7 separate regions of the Homo sapiens genome follow, and all the other regions are linked to region 1. The links are contacts of gene promoters, found by promoter capture Hi-C in blood cells and fetal thymus (Javierre and others, 2016). All regions are on one chromosome and are shown on one strand. Each heading gives the region's core, a stretch centred on a gene start or on the middle of the fragment in contact. The rest is flanking DNA. Distances are from core to core; before and after follow the strand shown.

What was found. Contacts are between HindIII fragments. The CHiCAGO score rates a contact against its expected background, and 5 or more counts as called.
Region 2: a fragment that was not itself captured here is called in contact with the fragment with the promoter of NSUN6 in region 1 in 1 of 17 cell types (activated CD4 T cells); the score reaches 6.2 in activated CD4 T cells.
Region 3: a contact is called between a fragment that was not itself captured here and the fragment with the promoter of NSUN6 in region 1, in 3 of 17 cell types (activated CD4 T cells, total CD8 T cells and non-activated CD4 T cells). The highest score is 5.7, in activated CD4 T cells.
Region 4: a fragment that was not itself captured here is called in contact with the fragment with the promoter of NSUN6 in region 1 in 1 of 17 cell types (activated CD4 T cells); the score reaches 5.4 in activated CD4 T cells.
Region 5: a fragment that was not itself captured here is called in contact with the fragment with the promoter of NSUN6 in region 1 in 1 of 17 cell types (non-activated CD4 T cells); the score reaches 9.2 in non-activated CD4 T cells.
Region 6: a fragment that was not itself captured here is called in contact with the fragment with the promoter of NSUN6 in region 1 in 1 of 17 cell types (non-activated CD4 T cells); the score reaches 10.9 in non-activated CD4 T cells.
Region 7: a fragment that was not itself captured here is called in contact with the fragment with the promoter of NSUN6 in region 1 in 1 of 17 cell types (M0 macrophages); the score reaches 5.5 in M0 macrophages.

The regions. Positions count from the first base shown.
Region 1 is chr10:18,650,060-18,653,001 of GRCh38, forward strand. It overlaps NSUN6 (NOP2/Sun RNA methyltransferase 6), which reads right to left and starts at 1,528. Exons shown (of 11, transcript NM_182543.5): 1 at 1,070-1,528. The coding sequence starts at 1,144. RefSeq lists an enhancer at 1,668-1,767. The HindIII fragment of the contact is 3,002 bases long and covers 906-2,942 here.
Region 2 is chr10:16,765,455-16,768,396 of GRCh38, forward strand. The region is part of intron 3 of RSU1 (Ras suppressor protein 1); the gene reads right to left. Among named protein-coding and RNA genes, the nearest start is that of RSU1, 50 kb to the right of the region's middle. The HindIII fragment of the contact is 2,708 bases long and covers 215-2,922 here.
Region 3 is chr10:16,798,758-16,801,699 of GRCh38, forward strand. The region is part of intron 2 of RSU1 (Ras suppressor protein 1); the gene reads right to left. Among named protein-coding and RNA genes, the nearest start is that of RSU1, 17 kb to the right of the region's middle. The HindIII fragment of the contact is 2,592 bases long and covers 251-2,842 here.
Region 4 is chr10:16,954,625-16,957,566 of GRCh38, forward strand. The region is part of intron 31 of CUBN (cubilin); the gene reads right to left. Among named protein-coding and RNA genes, the nearest start is that of RSU1, 140 kb to the left of the region's middle. The HindIII fragment of the contact is 1,089 bases long and covers 927-2,015 here.
Region 5 is chr10:17,009,723-17,012,664 of GRCh38, forward strand. The region is part of intron 28 of CUBN (cubilin); the gene reads right to left. Among named protein-coding and RNA genes, the nearest start is that of CUBN, 120 kb to the right of the region's middle. The HindIII fragment of the contact is 862 bases long and covers 985-1,846 here.
Region 6 is chr10:17,035,555-17,038,496 of GRCh38, forward strand. All of the region lies in intron 27 of CUBN (cubilin), which reads right to left. Among named protein-coding and RNA genes, the nearest start is that of CUBN, 93 kb to the right of the region's middle. The HindIII fragment of the contact is 5,094 bases long and covers 1-2,942 here.
Region 7 is chr10:20,212,118-20,215,059 of GRCh38, forward strand. All of the region lies in intron 10 of PLXDC2 (plexin domain containing 2), which reads left to right. Among named protein-coding and RNA genes, the nearest start is that of MIR4675, 340 kb to the right of the region's middle. The HindIII fragment of the contact is 634 bases long and covers 1,065-1,698 here.

The DNA of each region.
Region 1 (2,942 bases), core at 278-2,777:
GGTAAAGTGGTAGAGAGGACAGGCTTTGCAATAAAAGACAATCAACATTTACTGAGGACTTCTGTGGCAGGCACTGCCAATTGCAAACAAAATTAACATTTTTTGAAGACTTACATGCCAAAACAATGCAAGTTGTTTTCATTTACGTTTAATATCCTAAAACAACCTGGTAAAATATTTTTAACTTGACTAAAAAATTAAAGATTTGAAAAAAAACAAAGTTGCTTAGAGGCAGCATGGTAAAATGGAATAGACAACAGGCTTTGCAATCAAAGATAATCAACATTTACTGAGGACTTTAGCAAATAAAATTAACATTTTTTGAGGACTTACATGCCAAAACAATGCTAGTTGTATTCACTTACGTTTAATATCCTAAAACAACCTGGCAAGATATTTTTAACCATTCTCAATTTTTCACAGAAGAGAAAAATCTAGGTTAAGCCACGTAATTTACAAAGCACTAGAATGCAAATCATGTGCCTGAGATTCAAAAGCTGTACCTTTGTTCATTACACCTGAACTCTTTCCCTCCAGATTTCAATAGTTACTTGATAGCTGTGTCAACTTGGATCAGTTACACAATTCCTTGAGCAGTTTTCTGCTCAAGTCTATTAAAAGAGGAAAAACCTCTAAGAAAAAAAAGATTGTGAAGATTAAAGATGCAAATCTCCTAGCACAACTGCTGGCATTTAAGAGGCACTCAACAAATTACAGAAACCTTTTCACCTGAGTGCCAGAGCCAGCGCTCTTTTAAAATTCGATTCGAGTTCTTGAAGACAGGGACCTTTTCTTGTTCATCCTTGTAACCCTTTGTGCCATGCCTGACAGGCACATGCCTTTTTTCCCTTCTTTTCCACTCCTAAATGTTAAAACATATACCTTATTCACTTCGTATCTCAGTAAGCTTTAATACCTGTAGAAACATATTGGTATTTTTACACTTGATAGACAAGTAGTAAGGAACGACGGCTGTCAAGATTTCCCTTTATACTTATTTCTATTTCTCTCGAGTGTGCGAATATTTGAGTTTTTGCAAAATATCAACTAACATCTTTACTTGACCTACCTCCTTATTCATAAAGCCTTCCTTAAGATAGTTTTCAACCTCAGGTCTCAAAGATATCTTAGGGAAAATAGACATTTTTCCTGTTGTTTAGTTCTCCACCAAGAGAAATGCTGGAAAACGGTGTTTTGTTTTTTTTTTTCTTTCCGAATTAATAGTGACGAGTGTCTTGACACCAGATGCTGAGGAAAATCTTGCCGATCACGCTGAGTTAATTTCGGAAATGCAGAGGTACACGCTTTCTCAAGCCTAGCCGATTAGAAGGGGCTGCCGGGCTTCCACCACACCTCATCGAGGCAATGTTTTCTGGTAGAGATGCTCATGGAAATCACTGAGCCAATGCCACTCACGTTGCAAAGAACCAAAAAAAGAAAAAAATGCTTAGTAACTGAATCCGTGGTGAAACGGACGCAGATCAGTAAGCCAGGCTGACAGCAGCTCGGTCCCTTTATCTTTTCTATCAATTTCCAAACACGCGCCCCCTATTTCTCGGCGGAAAGTCGCTTCCGGCTTACGTCACGTCCGGCGCCTGCGGCCCACCCCTCCCTTTCCGGTCCCCCAATCCACAGCCGCAAGTTTCCCCAACACTGCGTTACGCTACGCCACGCCCCCGGAGGTTCCTAACCCTGCGTGAGGCTCTTTCACCTGCCTCAGGTTAAGTAGGCAGACCCCGCGGGCGGGATGGTCAAAGATATTTAGTTCCCGGTACCGGAGGGCTAGGTGCCAGGGGCAATGGGGAAACAGCCAAATGGCGTGGGTTGAGTGGAAGATGTTGCTGGACTGAAAAAAGGCACAGCCCAGTTGCTGTCCTGCCAGATGTCCTCCAGTTAGAGGATGAGGCCAGAATTTGGGCGCATCAGCCACCGTTTGATTTCATGACATGATTTTACCTCTCTCAGGCATACAGATCTGACTTCAGTTGTGAAGTTCATAGGGTTCATATTTTTGAAAGTTGGGCTAATGGTCTGTTAATATCCAATGCTCAGGTAAAACTTAAAACCCACAGACAGTGTTTACAGTTAGTTATAAGGCTAACTGCTACTTGTATCATAGTTGACATATTCTTTAGAGTTTGGAAGACCCTCGCCATTATTTTTTTTTCTTTTTTTTCATCATAAGCAGACAAGGATATAGATTCAAAGAACGAGGATATCTAACCAAACTCACTGAGTCATTTTATAACTGTACAGGAAAGTCAAAATAATTCTATCACCTTGACATATGTTTTTTGCAGCACACCATGGTAATTTACACATAAGTATAGGAAAGGGTTTTTTATTGTTTTTTTCTCTTTAATTTTCACACCGAATTATACACACAGACACACACACATAGAACAGGTACTTTCCATGACACACCAACTCTTTACCAGAAAGAGTAGAAAATAATGAATGACCATTATACCACACAACAACCTGCAAGTTGTTTATCATTTTCTCTGCTCTTTTTTTTTTTTTTTTTTTGAGTCTCTGTCGCCCAGACTGGAGTGGAATGGTGGGATCTCGACTCACTGCAACCTCCACCTCCTGGTTCAAGAGATTCTCCTGCCTTGGCCTCCCGAGTAGCTAAAATTACAGGCATGTGCCACCAGGCCCAGCTAATCTTTGTAATTTTAATAGAGACGGGGTTTCACCATGCTGGCCAGGCTGGTCTCAAACTCCTGACTTCAACTGATCTGACTCTCTAGCCTCCCAAAGTGCTGGGATTACAGGCGTGAGCCACCACGCCCAGCCCATTTTCTCTGTTTTAAAGAGTAAATCAAGGTTCCTAGGGTTGAAACAACTCTCCATGTTCTCACAAATAAAAAGCCAGGATAAAGACTAGTAATTTGGCTTCTAGAGCCAATACCTTGTCCTTGACCATAGCATATTTCTTC
Region 2 (2,942 bases), core at 319-2,818, 1.9 Mb before region 1:
TATTCAGATCAAAGGTGAAAATCAGCCACTGGGGACCTGAAAGGTTCCTCCTTCCCTAGAATATATACATTTGAAAATACAAATGTAAAAGCCAAAGGCATCTTTATCTTAAAAGCACAAACTGTAAATTGGCAGCAGCAGGAGTTTCCATAGACTGTAATTCATCTATCCCACTTGCTATTCAGTCTTTCTACAAACATTTCTGTGGGTGATAAGCTTGGCCATGGTTCACGTAAACTCTGATACCAAGACTATCCAGATAACTAAGAACATGAACAGGGGCGTGGAACTCAGCCTGAGAAAGTGTGATGTCTCTTATCAGTCAGGTTTACTTCCCATCCCATCTGCTTCCTCCAGGGGTGCCCCAGGAGGCTGGGAGACCAACCTGCTTCCTGCAGTCAGACCTAAACTCAGACCCGGGAGCACCTGTGATTAGAACCACCACAAAGGTGTGTGTAAAATGCCAAACATACATCTAAAATATTTAAGCAGCTAGCCATTTCAAGACGACCAATTGATAACTCCCAGGGGAACAAAAGTAAAGGGACAGGCACGTTGCTTATTATAGTTTTGAGTCATCATTTTGAGCTTTCTGAAATGTCTAAGGTATCACTGGCCTTTTAGAGGTAAGGCTTGGTGAAAGGTAAAAGAGATGCTTTCACTGGAAGAAGGGACTGTGAAGAATACAGATTACTCTGAACTGGGGCACACGGGCAGGGAGCAGTGGTCTAGTGAGCGGCCCCTGCGCGAGCTCCGGAAGTGGCCGTTGATAAAAGAACAAGTTTTCATCGGGTAATCTAGACAGCTCAAAGTTCCTCCAGAACCCTCCCTCTGGGATACCTGCAGGAATGCAAATGAACCCTACCTGTACAGTGTGGCTGCAAATGTACATTCTTTCTTAGGTGCACAGTCCATGGAACACTTCTGTGTAAATGAATGGTATTCACTGTGTGTAAGGGATTACCAAGAAAATCACCAGGGCCGGGAGCGGTGGCTCACACCTGTAACCCAGCACTTTAGGAGGCCGAGGTGGGTGGACTATCTGAGGTCAGGAGTTCAAGACTAGCCTGACCAACACGGTGCAACTCTGACTCTACTAAAAATACAAAAATTAGCTGGGCATGGTGGCAGACGCCTGTAATCCCAGCTACTCGGGAAGCTGAGGCAGGAGAATCGCTTGAACCTGGGAGGCAGAGGTTGCAGTAAGCCAAGATCATGCCATTACACTCCAGCCTAGGTGACAAGAGTACAACTCTATCTCGAGAAGAGAAAAGATTGGCCTGGTGTGGTAGCTCACTCCTGTGATCCCAGCACTTTGGGAGGCTGAGGCAGGTGAATCACCTGAGGTCAGGAGTTTGAGACCAGCCTGGCCGACGTGGTGAAACCCCATCTCTACAAAAAATAAATAAATAAATAAATAATTAGCTGGGCATGGTGGCGCATGCCTGTAGTTCCAGCTACTCGGGAAGCTGAGGCAGGAGAATCGCTTCTGGGAAGCAGAGGTTGCAGTGAGCCGAGATCAAGCCATTACACTCCAGCCCGGGTGACAAGAGTGAAACTCTATGTCCAAAAAAAAAAAAAAAGAAAAGAAAATCACCAGGCTGTGCCTTCTGGGTCACTGGATGTCATCTTCTCCCCCCAGATCATAAAGTATATACATTACAGCTGCCCACAGACCTCATCCCTCCCCTGTCCACCCTCCAGCTACCACTAAGCCTTCATCTGATTAGTTTGAAGAGCACATTCATCTGATTAGTTTGAAGAGCAATAAGGAAAGTTAGTGAAACCAGGAGAAAATGATGATCTCAATTTAGCCACAAACCAAGAATAATGCAGCCAGAATTACTGCCGTCTTCCCGAAGTTACTCTGCCAGTGCAATTAAATGCTGGTCTAAAGGTATCGCCTTTTTGACAGGATGAGAGATTATTTCACTCTCCTTGCTAAATCAGTCCAATTTAAAACCACAAATTATGCTAAATGTGATTTAGGGCTTTGTTTTGTGAACGCAAACAATAACCCCATATTCAATTTACAAAACCTCTCCCAGCCTTTTGGTGAGCATGTGAATTTTTCGTTTAAGACTCCATTCAAGCTAGACGAGGAAAAAAAAATAATACACAGCTAATAGTCTCCCTCAATATACGGAATTTTTTTTTAACCCCCAGCCATAGTGAAAATCTAAAGAAATTAACATGCAGACCCTTCTGGATGGGATGGTATTCACTCTTTGAACCAATATTTAGAGAATGCTGATTAGGTGCACAGTGCCATACTTTGCACACACAGCATCTCAATACCTGGGAGATAAAATAGGAGAGGCATGTTATTTAAAGAAAGTAAGTTACAAAAGACAGGGTATCAAAGTCAATCAACTGAAACAGGCCTAGTGCTTGGAAAATAAACTACTCCCAACCAAACTCTCTGAAAAAAATAACCAGTTAGCAATATGAATTGTGCTATGACTAAATCCTATACATACGTGGCGGGAACAATTTTAGGTATTCCAAAAAGGCCACTGCAATATTTTACCAGTCAAAATATTCTACTGGAATTTTCTAGATATCTACAGGATGCATGAGCAAGAAGCATTTTAAAAGCTAACAGTGCACATCAGTATATTTCTTACATCTTTGAAACGATCCTTTTTCATCAATCTGTCCAGCTTCTGATCTATGACCCCAGCTGACCTATGACACCAAAGGAACTAAAGAGCAACGTGGTCCCTGACCCTACAGTGCTGTGTGTGCCCTCACTCAACTCATAACCTCTCTGGGCCTCTGTAAAATAAGAAGGCTGGATTATGACCATTTCCAAGGTCTCTTCCACCTCATTTTAACATTCTAGGATTCTAAAAGGAGATGGATTATGAAAATCAATGATATGGCTTTAAATAATTCAACAAATGGGGCTCTCAATTAGGAAGCTTAGTCATGTAGAACTT
Region 3 (2,942 bases), core at 297-2,796, 1.9 Mb before region 1:
CGCCCTACACCAAGTCATACTCCAGTAAAATTACAGGAAATAAAATTGTATCACCAGACTTTCAAACAATGCTTTATGCCAGAAGAAATAGAGTAACACATCGACAACACTCCAGAAAAGAAACTGTCGAGTCTCTATACCTGTAAAATTGACTTTCATGTAAAAAGAACACAAATTTTTATGTACTATCCACAGAAAAAACTCTGGGATTATTCTCTTGATGCCTTTCTGAGGAATATTCCAGAGTATAAGCTTCAGACAATCAAAATAACTAGAGATACATTGTCCTAAGGACTCCTAATGCGCATAAAAGATAGGGGTGCCTGTAGAACTAAGACTACGTGAGGGCTAAAGGAGAGACTGTATCATAGGAAATGGCTATATGTGCTGAAAATCTAGATACAGTTCAAATTCTAAAAAGCAGGGAGCCGTATTTCCAAAATTAATACCAGATTAGAGATGTATCGGGTTTCTGGTTAGCAAATAGAGATTCTGGACGTTGTCACTACCATACTCACAGTAAGAAGAAAGCTGAGCAAACAGAAAACAAACAACTCTTCCATAGATTCATTAGAAAACTCAGGTCACAGGGCAAACCACCATACCGAAATCTAGAGACAGGCAAACACAGAGAATCACAGCATAGTAGGAGCAGAAATACCTGCTGGAGCCAGCAACCGGTAGGAATGCCTCAAGGGTAACTGCCGAATTGCCAGAGACTGAGTGGTAAACTAATTTGAGAGATTAAAAACAACAACAACAACAACAAAAACAACAACAAGTTCCTGGGGGCCCGGTCTTAAGGGGTCTCCTGTACTTTGCTGAGTTTTACCTCTAAGAGCCCTACCAGGTTCTAAGGGTGAAAAAATTAGAAAAAAAAATCCCTCTGTGCTTCATGGAAGGGGAGAAGAGCAACCACTGTGAAAGAAGCCCAAAGCATTCTGCTCTCCTTAACAAACAGAGAAATGATTTAGCAGAGCCTAGGCTACCTGGGATTTACCAGAGCCTGACCAACAGGAACTGATGGAAATACCCAACTCCAGCCCGCTCACACCTTCCTGTCTCAATTTGGTAGCCGGGGGCGGGGAGGGGATGCGGGGAAGTTGAGAAACAGCTGTGAAGGTCACAGCCAAGTGGCACAGGCTCACTAGAGAGATCTAAGCACAGGATTACAGAACGTTTCCCTTTTCCCGATGCCTTCTCATCAGAAGGGGTCCTATAAAATAATACGGAATTACGGCAGAAGTTCAAGGCTCACACAGTATTTAAGGATTCAACAGGGAAAATCTAAGAGAAAAGGGGAGGAAAACACAAGGAAGACACAAGAGAAAATTTTACCCTCTGACACCCAAAGCTACAAAAATGTGAGAACTCGCACTAAAAGCCTATTTACCTCAGTTCCTTTTACCCAATGCATCATGTCTGGCTTACAACAAAATTACAAGGTACTCTAAAAAGAAGAAAGGCTGAGGAGAGAAATCAAGCAAAAGAAGCACACTCGGATATGGCAGATATTTTACAGTTATCTGACTGCGACTTTAAAATTAATATGATTGATATGCTAAGAGCTCTAATGGAAAAAGTAGACAACATGCAAGAAAAGATGGGTAATGTCAGCAGAGACAAAATCCCTGAGAGAATTGAAAGGAAATGCTAGAGTTCACAAACACTGTAACAAAAATAAAGAGCGCCTCTGACTGGCTCATTAGTAGAATGGATACAGTCAAGGAAAGAATCAGTGATCTTGAAGACATGTCAACAGAAACTTCCTAAACTGAAAAGCAAAGAGAAAGAAGAGTAGGAGAAAAGTAAGACAAAATATCTAAGAACAATGGGATAATTACAAAAGGCGTAACAGGCATGTTGGTTGATTATAGTTTACAGATAACTGAAATGAATGATACCGATTCTATAAAGAACAACAAGAAGGAACTGGAAATGTCTGATTTTAAGTTACCTGCACTGGCTCTGAAGTGGCACAGTGTTATTTAAAAGTGAGTTAAGATTAATTGTAAATGTATATTGCAAACTCTAGGGCTATCATTAAGAAGTTTTTATTCCTTGCTTTATCCTCCTTCTAAAAAATAAATTTTTAAATGTACATTTGCTGAGAAAAGAGAAAACGGAATATGTTGTGAGAAGAGAAAATGAAATCATATTAAATGCTCAATTAAAGCCACGGAAAGCAGAAAAAGAGCAGAAGACAAAAAAAAAAAGAACAAGGGCAAGAATAGAAAACACTTATTTTGTAGGTATTAATCTAAGTAATATCAATTATCACATTAGATGTTAATAACCAAACATATCAATTATAAGACTATCAGTGTGGATCTTTTTTTTAAAAAAAAAAACAGGATCTAACTATATGTTATCTATGAGAAATCCACTTTAAATATAAAATATAGATACAACTAAATTAAAAGTAACGGGATGGAGAAAGAGATATGACGCTAAACGCTAAACAAAAAAAGCTGCAGTAGTCATGTTAATTTCAGACAAAGCTGACTTCAAAGCAAGGAAGATTATCAGAAATAAAAAAGGGTATTACATGACGATTAAATGGTAAACTTTCCAAGAAAGACACAGCAATCCTTAATGTGAATGTATCTAACAACAGCGTCAAAATATGTTAGACAAAAACTTATAGAAATGCAAAGAGAAAGAAACAAATCCGCTATTATACTTGGAGACGTCAAGACTCCACTCTATCAGTAATTGACAGATCCAGCAGGCAGAAAATCAGTAAGGACAGAGTTAAAAACACAACACCACCATCTATCAGCTGGATATAATTGACATCTATAGACTACTCCATCTAACAGAAAAATGCACATTCTTCTGAAGCTTGCACAGAACATTCATAGACATAGACCACATTCTGGGCCATAAAACACCCCTTAAACTTAAGAAAATAGAAATTATACAATATATGCTCTCAGTCC
Region 4 (2,942 bases), core at 221-2,720, 1.7 Mb before region 1:
GCCGATATACTAGTGGATAATCACACGTTTGCTGGATCTAGGGAAACTGGCTTTATTGTCCTTTCTCACAGCTGTAACAAGTCTTTGGTCATTTCTAGGGATGCTGACGTGAATTTCAGCAGGACTTCCTCTGTCAGAGCCACTATTAGATTTCTTGATATCTTCATAAATGCCGTCCCTTCCACACTCCCCTTCCTTCCCAACCCCAGTGTAGTCACCTCACAGGCCATGCCCACAACATGTGCTGGAAATGTGTAATGCAAGAATAGACACATGAGAAAACAGACGAGAAATAATGATGAGTGATGAGCATTTGTTGTCAGAATCCCAACATTTGTTGGACCTGTTTGTTCTTCATAAGTTTCGTGATAGGGTAATGCTCAAGAGAAGAGAAATGGCAGAATTCTTTTCAAACGATAGGGGTGATATAAGGCTGATTTAGAAAACTACCTCTCTCTCTTTTTGCCCGTGCATGGTGGCTCACATCTACAATCCCAGCACTTTGGGAGGCTGAGGCGGGTGGATCACCTGAGGTCAGGAGTTCAAGACCAGCCTGGCCAACATGGCGAGACCCCCGTCTCTAATAAAAAATACACAAATTAGCCAGGTGTGGTGGTGTGCACCTGTAGTCAAAGCTACTCAGGAGGCTGAGGCAGGAGAATTGCTTGAACCTGGGAGGCGGAGGTTGCAGTGAGCTGAGATCCCACCACTGCACTCCAGCCTGGGCAACAGAGAGCGAGATTCTGTCTCAAAAAAAAAAAAAAAAAAAAAAAAAAAAGGAAAAGAAAATTACCTCTCTCTTTTTAACTGTTGGTCTCTGTCTTGCCTAGTGCCATGCTGGGACCTAGCTGACCCTCCAGGCATGTAATGAAATGGAATCTATGTCACATATACCTGAAATCTCTGTATTGATTTGTAAAATTTGAAGCTTACTAATTTGCTTGGAACTCAGTGTCTGGATGAATTTTTGAATACTCTTATGTGTAAATCAGGGGGGAAATGAGTTCCTTTGCTTGGATGATTAATAATAACTCCCATTCATTAGTGCTTACTATGTGCCAGGAACTGGATTCAGCCCTTCACGTACACTGTCCCATTTTATCCTCCCAAATTTCTTTCTGTTTTTAAGAACAGGACAACAGAGGCACAGAGAGCCTAAGTAATGGGCCCAAGTCACACAATTCCTAAGAGGGAGCAGGTCACGTTGAATCAGACCACTAGATTCCAGAGTCCAGAATTGAAACCCTTTCCTCTTGTTCACTGCAAGGTATCAACTGAGCAGGACGCATGCATCAACCTGCCAACCATTAGAATGTGACTGAAAGTATGAAGGTAAAATATGGCCATTTCATTAAAAACAAATTGCCATTTATATTTCATAAGAAAATCTTGGGGAAAAAAATAGAAAGTTCGGAGATTCAATGTAAGGAAGTTACTCGCAAGTGACTTTAAAAATCTGGTGATGATTATAATCAGTGTTCTGTTTAGCACACAGGTATGATTCTGCATGTTCTCTTTAGCCACAGGTATGATTGGCAGGATATTCTCAGTTTGGCTTATACAAGCCCATGAATCAAATATCAATAGGATTTTTAACTTTCTGAGGAGCTAAAGCTCTTACAATAATAAGTTTAAAACAAATGTGGGTCTGTTCTGGAGCAGCAAATCTTTTCTTTTTTATTATTTAATGTTCAAAATTTAAATATATATATATATATCTCCAATAAATGAAACCTGATGACTGATTTTCATTCAACAAAGATTGATTAAAAACTAAATTCCATTTTTCTAACCAATTCAAATTATAATTTCCAATCTAGTATGAATCCTTCCTTTGAACACGTTGAACACTGTAAACAGTAGACAAAATGACATTTAAACCATCACTACAAAACCTCTTACTACATTCATACTTGAGTCTACTCTCAAATATCACCACCATTGGTTTAATTCAAGTCTTTATTATCTCTATACTTGGTTTTATGCTGTCCTAAGGTTATAGATACAGTGTCCTAAGCTTGTAGTAATATTCTATTAATACTGTCTTAGTTTTAATATCAAAGGATAATGAATACCTTCTTAGAACATCTGTGGTTACAGAGTATGGAGAATACACCAATTGAATCTTAAGGCACAGACTATTTACTTCTCTCAAGATAATTTATTCATTTATTTGTTTAGAATAGCATTTTTTCATTTTTATAAAAGTTTAAGATTCAATTTTATGAATATATACAGTTTATATTTATTTTTTATTTTGGTTTTAAGTGATGCATAATAATTGAACACATGTATGAGGGATAGTGTGATGTTTCAATACACATATACATTGTGTAATTATCAAATCATGGTATTCAGCATGTCCATCAATTCAAACATTTATCATTTATTTGTGGTGAGACCATTAAGAATCCTCTCTTCTAGTTACTTTTAACACACTATAATATTTATAAACCAGAATATTGTTTACTGTGGGTGCCCTACTGTGTTATAGAACATCAGAACTTATTCCTCTTACCTAACTGTAATTGTATACCCTTTGACAAATATCTCCCCATAATTTCCTCCCTGCTACCGTCCCCAGCCTCTGGTAACCACTATTCTACCCTGTACTTGTGCGAGATCAGCATTTTTACACTCCACAAATGAGTGACATCATGCAATATTTATCTTTCTGTGCCTGGCTTATTTCCATGAACATAAAGTCCTTCAGGCTCATCCATGATGCCACAAATGACAGGATTGTGTTCATTTCTATTGCTAAGTACCATCCCATTGTTTATATATATCACATTTTAAAAATCCATTCATCCATTGATAAGTCTTTTTGTCTTCAAGAGAAGACATACAAATGACCAACAGGTAAATGAAAAAATGCTCAACATCACTAATCACCAGTGAAATCCAAATCAAAGCCACAGTGAAATACCACTTAATCCCAA
Region 5 (2,942 bases), core at 166-2,665, 1.6 Mb before region 1:
GCACTTTTTAAAACTCCCAGGCAATTCCAATGGTGCATCTAGGACTGAGAACACTCTCCAGGGCCCTGAGCCCAGGCTTCCTGGTTAACATTTCTTACCTTCTACACTTCTGTCCCTGGGGGAAAGTTCTCTCTGCTTTAGATCTTGCTATTATCCTACTGTCATTAAAACAAACAGTACAATGTGCCCTTTCAACATCTCAGAAGGATTCTCCAGTCTCTAGGGATACTGTCTTTCTACCATCTCATTTCTCCAGTCTCAACACTTGCTCTCACCTTGTTCCTCAGAGCGGTCCATAGAGCAGCACCAGCAGCATTACCCGGGAGCTTGTTAGAAATGCAGATTCACGGGCCTTGCCCCAGACCCCATCCTCTATCCAACAAGATCCCCAGGGTTCATGTGCACAGGAGCATCTGGGTAGCACGTATGCTCTGGAGAATGCCCCAGCCCTTGAAATTCTGGGCCATTTCCCAGGATTCTCCTGACCTTTCTGTCTCTTTTCACACTGTCTCTAGTTAGAATCATGTGTTTCAGAATCACGGAATACTACAGATCATCTGTATTATAGAGATGAATCAATCCAATCCCTGCATTTAACGGATCCATGAGTTGACTTAGGTTGAATCTACCCACTTGGGCCAGGTGCAGTGGCTCACACCTGTAATCCCATCACTTTGGGAGGCCAAGGCAGGAGGACTGCTTGAGCTCAGAAGTTCAAGATCAGACTGGGCAACATAGCAAGACCTCAACTCTACTAAAAAAAAAAAAATGCCAGGTGCAGTGGTACACACCTGTAGTCTCAGCTACTCAAGAGGCTGAAGTGAGAGAATCACTTAAGCCTCAGAGCTCAAGGCTCCAGTGAGCTATGACCAGGACACTGCACTCCAGTTTGGATGACAGAGCAAGATCCTATCTTGATAAATAAATAAATAAATATATAAATATCTACTCACTTGATGAAGAGGAAGGTCCAGAACTTCTACAAGCTTAGTTATCACAACTCATTTACTTTGGGAATTCCTAATGTACGTTTCAAGCTGCAAGTAGCTCTGTGGATGACCACTGACTATTTTTAAATACTGAAAGCCCCATACATATTTTAACAGACATACACTCAGAGCCCAGTTTATAATCTCAGAACGCCTAGCACTCCTAAGTGTATAATAGGGCTATTCAGTTATAAGTAGCTCTGACATTCCTATAATGAGTGCACCAGAATGTGAACAATGTTAAGAGTCAACCACTGCACACATTCATGTGTGCTCAGCTAGAGCTCAGCCCTGATTTTGACAGCAGGGCCACAGCTTAGATGTCTATGCTTGGTTCCTGGTATAATCTTGGAACTCCACTTCTCTTTCCAGTTGATTGAAATACACCAATGAGCTCTAGCATCATGGTTGAGAACTACTGCTATGAGACCCACAAGCACTACATGTTCCAGGGCTAGATCACTCTAAGACAGTAGTGTGTCTGGAATTTATTCCTTCTGGTGGGTTCTTGGTCTCGCTGATTTCAAGAATGAAGCCACGGACCCTCACAGTGAGTGTTACAGTTCTTAAAGATGGTGTGTCCAGAGTTTGTTCAGATGTTCAGATGTGTCCGCAGTTTCGTCCTTCCAGTGGGTTCGTGGTCTCGCTGACTTTAGGAGTGAAGCTGCAGACCTTCACCATGAGTGTTACGGCCCTTAAAGGTAGTGCGGAGTTATTTGTTCCTCCCGGTGGGTTCGTGGTCTTGCTGACTTCAGGAATGAAGCCGCAAACCTTCACAGTGAGTGTTACAGCTCATAAAGGTAGTGTGAACCCAGAGTGAGCAGCAGCAAGATTTATTGTGAAGAGTGAGAGAACAAAGCTTCCACAGCGTGGAAGGGGACCCGAGCAGGTTGCCGCTGCTAGCTCGGGTGGCCAGCTTTTATTCCCTTATTTGGCCCTGCCCACGTCCTGCTGATTGGTCCATTTTACAGAGCACTGATTGGTCCATTTTACAGAGCGCAGATTGGTCCATTTTTACAGAGTGCTGATCGGTGCGTTTACAAACCTTTAGTTAGACACAGAGCGCAGATTGGTGTGTTTTTACAAAGTGCTGATTGGTGCATTTACAAACCTTTAGCTAGACACAGAGCGCTGATTGGTGCATTTACAAACCTTTAGCTAGACAGAAAAGTTCTCCAAGTCCCCACCTGACCCAGAAGCTCAGCTGGCTTCACCTCTTAATCCCCCCTCTAAACAGGACACCCCAACTGCTGCTGGGAATTGGGTGATGACCACTCTAGCTACTTCCCGCTGGATAGGGGCAAAGAAGGGGCCCTGAAGTTGTAGTGTCCTCCAGAGGGGAACTCTTTAGGCTAATGAAAGGGCCAGTGGGTCGGTCCAGGGGTCCTTGATAGAAGTTGTTAGTTGAGCTCATTTGGGGTTCCATTTGTAAGACCATCTGTAGCCTGATGGCCTTGATTCTAGAGGAAACAAATTTGACAAGGAGGTTAAAAATACAGGGCCCGAAGGCAAGTAATAGCAAGATGGCTGCCATGGGACCTAGAAAGGGGAGAAGCCATATTGCCCAACTCCAGAGGTTGGTATAAGAGTTTGAAAGGCATTGTCTGATATCAGAAGCTTTTTCCTGTAAATGCTGCGTGGCATCTCGTACTATCCCTGACTGGTTAGTGTAAAAGCAACACTCTTTCCCAAAGAAGGTGCAAAGTCCTCCTTTCTCAGCAGTGAGGAGGGTCTAGGCCTCAGCAGTTTTGGAGAGTCACTGCTGCCGAAGAGTCTATTTGGGATTGTAGTTACTATCCTTACTGGACAGATTTTGTTATTTCTTGCAAACTGTCTGAGAAATGCTTTGAGAGTGTGTGGTAGTAGGATAATGCATGTTACACTGTTAACTTTTAGCAAACTCTACGTTAGTAGAAAACCTTGTAAGTTTGGGATTTTAATTTTTCTTTGCTA
Region 6 (2,942 bases), core at 305-2,804, 1.6 Mb before region 1:
ATGCCACAGCACTGAAAGGTATAGTGATTACAGAGCTGATTTTGTAATCTTGGTGAATTCATGGGTGCATAGTTCATGGTTAATGTTTTCAACGCAGCCATAAAAAAGAGCAAGATCAGGTCCTTTGCAAGAATGTGAATGGAGCTGGAGGCCATTTTCCTCAGCAAACTAATGCAGGAAACAGAAAACCAAGTACTGCATGTTCTCACTTATATGTGGGAGCTAAGTGCTGAGAACACATGGACACAGGACAGGGAAACAGCAGGCACTGGGGCCTACCTGAGGGTGGAGGGTGGGAGGAGGGAGAGGATCCAAAAAAATAATGAGAACTAGGCTTAATACCTAGGTGATGAAATGATCTGTGCAACAAACACCCATGACACAAGTTTACCTACATAATAAATAAGTTCAGGGTATGTGTACTACTATCAGGGTAGTGCACATACCCTGAACTTGAAAGTTAAATTAAAAAAAAAAAGTTTTAGCATTCCAGCGGAATCTATGCCCCTGCTCACAAGTTCTGCTTCTGCCCAGAACATAATCTGTGAACATCACCGGCTAGAGGGCTTGGCTACACTGCCCTAATGAGTATCGTCCATAGGCAGGCTAGACCCATGCATTTGCTGTCGAGCTCAAACACATGAGCTCCCTGTGCTGGGGATTTGTCACCAAGGGAAAGTCTGGTTGTATGCAAGCACTTGAGGTAAATGATCCTGTAGGGTCAAGGCTGGGGTGGTCATGTTGTTGAAGCTAAAATTCCGAGGTTGCTGAAACTCAGAGGAAGCCTTTGGGGAGAGGGATGGGAATGGATGGGAACAGTCAGGGAGCAGGAGCAGAGCCTTAGGAAGTGGGAGTGGAGAATCTGCCTCACTCTCTTGGCTTCCCACCTTCTCCAGGCTTCTCAGCCTCTCCTGTGTGTGGGGAGGTGTGAGCCTTCTCAAAGTAACCAGCCTGTCACATGCGCCTGTCCTCTTCATGTGGCTCAGATTGTGTTTCGGTGCCACCACCAAGAGTGCGAGCCCAGACAAGGAGAACCAGCAGGGCTGCCAGGGGGCTGAAGGGAAAACGTTCCAGCTTCCAAGATGGGGAAAGATTCATTCTAGAATCTCGTAGATCAGTAAGATTAACAGTAATTTTTGGAAAAATTCTAAATTAGACACTAAAAATAATTTGTCAACATGAAGCAAAGAAAGAGGTGATTATAATAAATGGCACCTGCTTATCTATGGAGTCATGCAAAACATTGATTTCTCTTTGCGGCAGTGTCAATAGAATGGTAGACTTGGGGGCAGCAGGAACACTTCCCCATGATCCCTGTGAGGGTGACAGGACACTGTGAGAGTGCTCCCGGGGTATGTGGTGTTATGGCTGAGAGCATCGGTGTGGAGTTACAGTGCCTGCTAGAAAGCCGGCCTTGACACTTATAATCTTTCTGAATATGAACAACCTATATCTGCCTCACTTTTCTCACCTAACGAATGGGGATAATATTTCTTATAATACAGGGTTGCTGTGAGAATTACCTGGCAAATAATACATGCTGAATAAATATTAGCTTTTATTACCTAGTAGTTTGAATAGTGCTATTCCAAAAGCACTTAATAATAGATCAATTTTAACCAAAAGAACTTATCATTTAAGAGTATTTGAAATAGATGCAATCTTGTTTGACATTTTTATCAATTATTTTTGAAGAAGTACTAGGTCAGTGGCCAATGAGTCTGTATGCAAATGAATAATGCTCTGAAAAGCAATGAATGAAGATTTAGGGAGGTCATGATGTGTTGGGATTCTCAGACAAAATCAAATCTGATTTATTAGGAAAAATATCTCTGTTTAGATTCTTAAAAATCATATAATCATAAATTCATAATAATTCATGTAAAAGTGATATGGAGATTATAAATCTTGATATAGGCCAATATCATGACTTAGCTACAATAAACCCCATTTAACTTCAGCATAGACCACCAGAAATATATGAACTGGATAATACGGTTCCAACCTACTTGGGCCTAGCCAGGTTTAGTTGAACTGTTGCATCCAATTCTGGGGCCACATTTAAAGAGGCACTGACATACAAGAGAACATGCAAAGGAGTGTGTCCCACACACGTGAACTAGATGAGGACCAGTTAGGGAAATGAAGGATAAGGATTGGAGAAAAGAAGCCATCACTTACTCTGGTTTGTTACAGAGAGCCTCAGAATTCAGGGACCTAGACTTCAGTCTACACTCACTCTCCTCTTTGTACCTCTTTACACTGTCTGGTTCCTGCTCTCGCCCCACAAACACTGCTCTGACCAGAGTCACATTGATCTCCAAGGGACCCTTCTGAACCACAACCTCTCTCGACTGCTCTTCCCTTGGCTCCCATGACACAGTCACCTTTTTTTTTTTTTTTAGACAGGGTCTCACTTCGTCACCCAGGCTGGAATGCAATGGTGCGATCCCAGCTCACTGCAAACTCCGCCTCCCGGGTTCTAGTGATTCTCCTGCCTCAGCCTCCTGAGTAGCTGAGATTATAGGCCTGAGCCACCGTGCCCAGCCACAATCACCTCTTAGTGTTCCTACTTCCTCTTCTCACTACACACATGCTCCCTGTTGACTTAACAAATACCCTGGGCTTCCTATACATCTCCATGTTGATTTCTCCCAAATCTATCATTTCCATTTCTATATTCAATCACTCGTTTGAAATCTCCTTTTCTGCATGGAGACTCAGACTCAAAATAAAAATGGAAGACTGAAATCAAGTTGTAAAATACAGCCAGAACTCTTCAGGTTGATTCCCCATGTTTGCACGGGCAAATGGTCTCACTCCTTTAAGCAAATGGTCCCTTCTCCCACTGTATATTTTATTTCCAGATCTGAAATATTTTGTTTTGCCCAGAGGGTGAAATAATAAAGGATGCATTTGGTTTCCAATGGGATCTTTTCAAA
Region 7 (2,942 bases), core at 132-2,631, 1.6 Mb after region 1:
TCTTGGAGAGTCAGGTAAATGGCTAGGGAATAGTAGGGCCAGGATTGGAATCTGTAGAGGAGTTCTCTTAAATGCTTGCTATTTTTCTAGGATGTACGAAACCATTGTTCCTCTTTGTAATTCAAACAGCAAGACCAGTGGTATTGTGGAGGGTGGAAGACTGCAGCAAATTGATGTGCTGTAATAAATGAGAAATTGTATAACATTAGTTGGCATAGAGAGATGGTATAATGTTAACTCTGAGGGAAACATGATAGAGACAAGGATGCAGTGAAGTCGTGTAAGCAATTGGATACCAGAAACAATTTTAACCCGTTTAAAAGCTTTGCAGTGACTCGCATTTATACTATCATTTCAAGATCATATAAAGATATCCTATAAAGTTTATGAAGAAAAGCATTTACTTCTTCTCCCTTCATTAAGTTTTGGGGTATCAATTTTGAATTAAAACTGCTAACAATTACAAAAGTTTAGCAAAGCAAGCCATGCCAAAATGCTGTTTTAAAAACTATTTGTTCAATGGTTACTTAGAGACTTTTTAAAAATTCATTTTTGGGGGGCATGTTTCATAAAGATCTTGAGCAATACATTTTTAAAAACATTCTTGAACTTTAAATGCAGTATTGCCAGTGTAGCTATAACCAACCTTTTGGCATTTCATTTAGGGAATGACAGCAGTGTGTGCTCATCCGTCTCACCTCACTTATCTAATAACGTAGTTCCAAAGAGTATCTATTGACAAAGCCATAGTTGTGTTTTGAGACAATCATTTCTTTCATATAATCAGTTACCTCAATATAAAATGTTGAAAATGAATATCTCCATATATGTAAAGATTGAGAATGTAATTCAGATGTATATTTTTTCTCCCAAATTTGGTTTATCTTTTCATTTTCTCTATGATTTTATTTCACTAACATTAATTATCAATTTAATCTGTCAAATGTATGAATCTTTTATTTTTATGATGAGTTTTATATGCCTGTGCATCTTCTTTTAGAAGAATTTTCCTACCAAATTCCATCTAGGTGTTATTTTTGTGTATTTTTTTCTGAATATTTTAAAGCTTTGTCTTACACGTCAAAATCTATTCCATTTGGAATTGGTTTTTATGTATTATATAAGGTAGAGATTCAGTTTCGTGGGGTTTTTTTTCTTGATGGATAGCCAAATTTCAAGCACCATTTGTTAACTAATCCTTTCTTTTGGCAATATCTTGCAAAGTCACCTGTTTTATGTATATTTTCTGGGCTCTCCTCTTCTAAAGCTCTGTCAGTACTTAGATCAGTGTCCCACTGTATTAATTTCTATTGTTTTATAAGAAATCTTACTATATACAGGACAAATCTCCTTACTTTTTCTTCTTCACAAGTGTTTGGGTATTTTAGGGCTTTTGTCCTTCATATAAATATTAAACTCACCTTGTCGAGATCTGTAATCCATCTATCAATACATCTTACTAACATTTTATTGGAAATACATTAAATTATGAATTAGATCACATTTCCTAATTACAGAGGCTTTTAAAATTTACCTTTTTTACTATTGACTTCTAGACTAATTGAGTCATCATCAGAGAACATGTTATGATCTTTAAAGTTGATTGGAAATTTTTCATGAACAAGTACATGGGCATTTTGTACAAAGGGTCTATGTGTGTTCAAGAAAAATGTGTGTTTTCCTGTTGGTTGGGTGTCAAGCTTGATAAATGTACTCTTCAGCTATACTTCTCCACTCTCTTTATTTTCACCTTCTGACTTCTTTGAAAGCTTGCCATTTTCATCTTTTCCTCATATTTTTAAACCTCTATTATATGTAATCTCTTTCCTTATTACTCTGTGCTGTATTTGGAGCAATTTCTTCAGATGTATTTACCGGTTTATTAACTCTCCCTTCATCTTGTTTAATATTCTATGTAATCTACTCACTGAAGTAGAAATTCCAACAAACATTTTTCATATCTAAAATTAAATTTGACACTTATTACATCTGCCAAGTATTTTATAGTTTCATGTGAACCGTTCATTTCTCAATTTTATCTTTTATGATTTTAAATATTCCGTGTATGATTTTTGTATATTCCATATTGGATGATCCCATTATCTAAAATTTTGGTGATCTAAATAGTGTGGTCATTGTTTTTGCTGATTCTTTCTCAGACAGCTATTTTTTTTTCTTTTTTAGTGTATATTTGTCTGATCCTATTCTAAGACCTAAATAGGTGATGTTTTCCCCCAAAGAAGATTTGATGATGGGATCCTCAGGATTTTCAGGCTACCATAAGTCTCTGCCCTAATGTGAGGAGGAGAAGTTCAGATTTTTCTCCCCTGTCTACTACTGCTGCAAGGCTTGTTCTCTTTAGAGCGATATTGATTTTGGATTTTTTTCCTCAGGGCAAATTCTGCTTTTTTAACTTCCCTTAATGTATACAGCTCCTACTGTCTTTATAGCACATAGCTTTTGCTTTGTTTTATTTTTTGAGTGGGGAGGGGAATAAACAATGGAAAGGCACCATTGGGATATTCTTTACCTCCTGCAAATCCTAAGGCTTTAAAATTCAAGTTTTATTCAGAATCTACTTGTTTTGTTATAGGAGGGCTATTTAGTTCCTTAGTCTGCCGTTACTGCCAAAAGCAATCTGAGCCTAGGATTTTACCTTAAACGTAGGGTGTTTACTGAACATTATTAGATCCTGTTTACGGAATACTAGGTCCTGTTCATTGACAGTAGAAACACAAAGAGAGAATAATATATGGCAAGTTCCATTCTATACTCCTTGAGTTTGAGATGTGTGTGACATTCACATGCAGACACCTGGTCAATAGATGACTTTTTGGGCCTGAAATCCAAAAGAGGAATGTGGACTGGAAATATAGATTTATGAATAATCAACATAAAGATGTTCATTGCAGTCATGGGTGTAGAAGAGATTGCAAAAGATA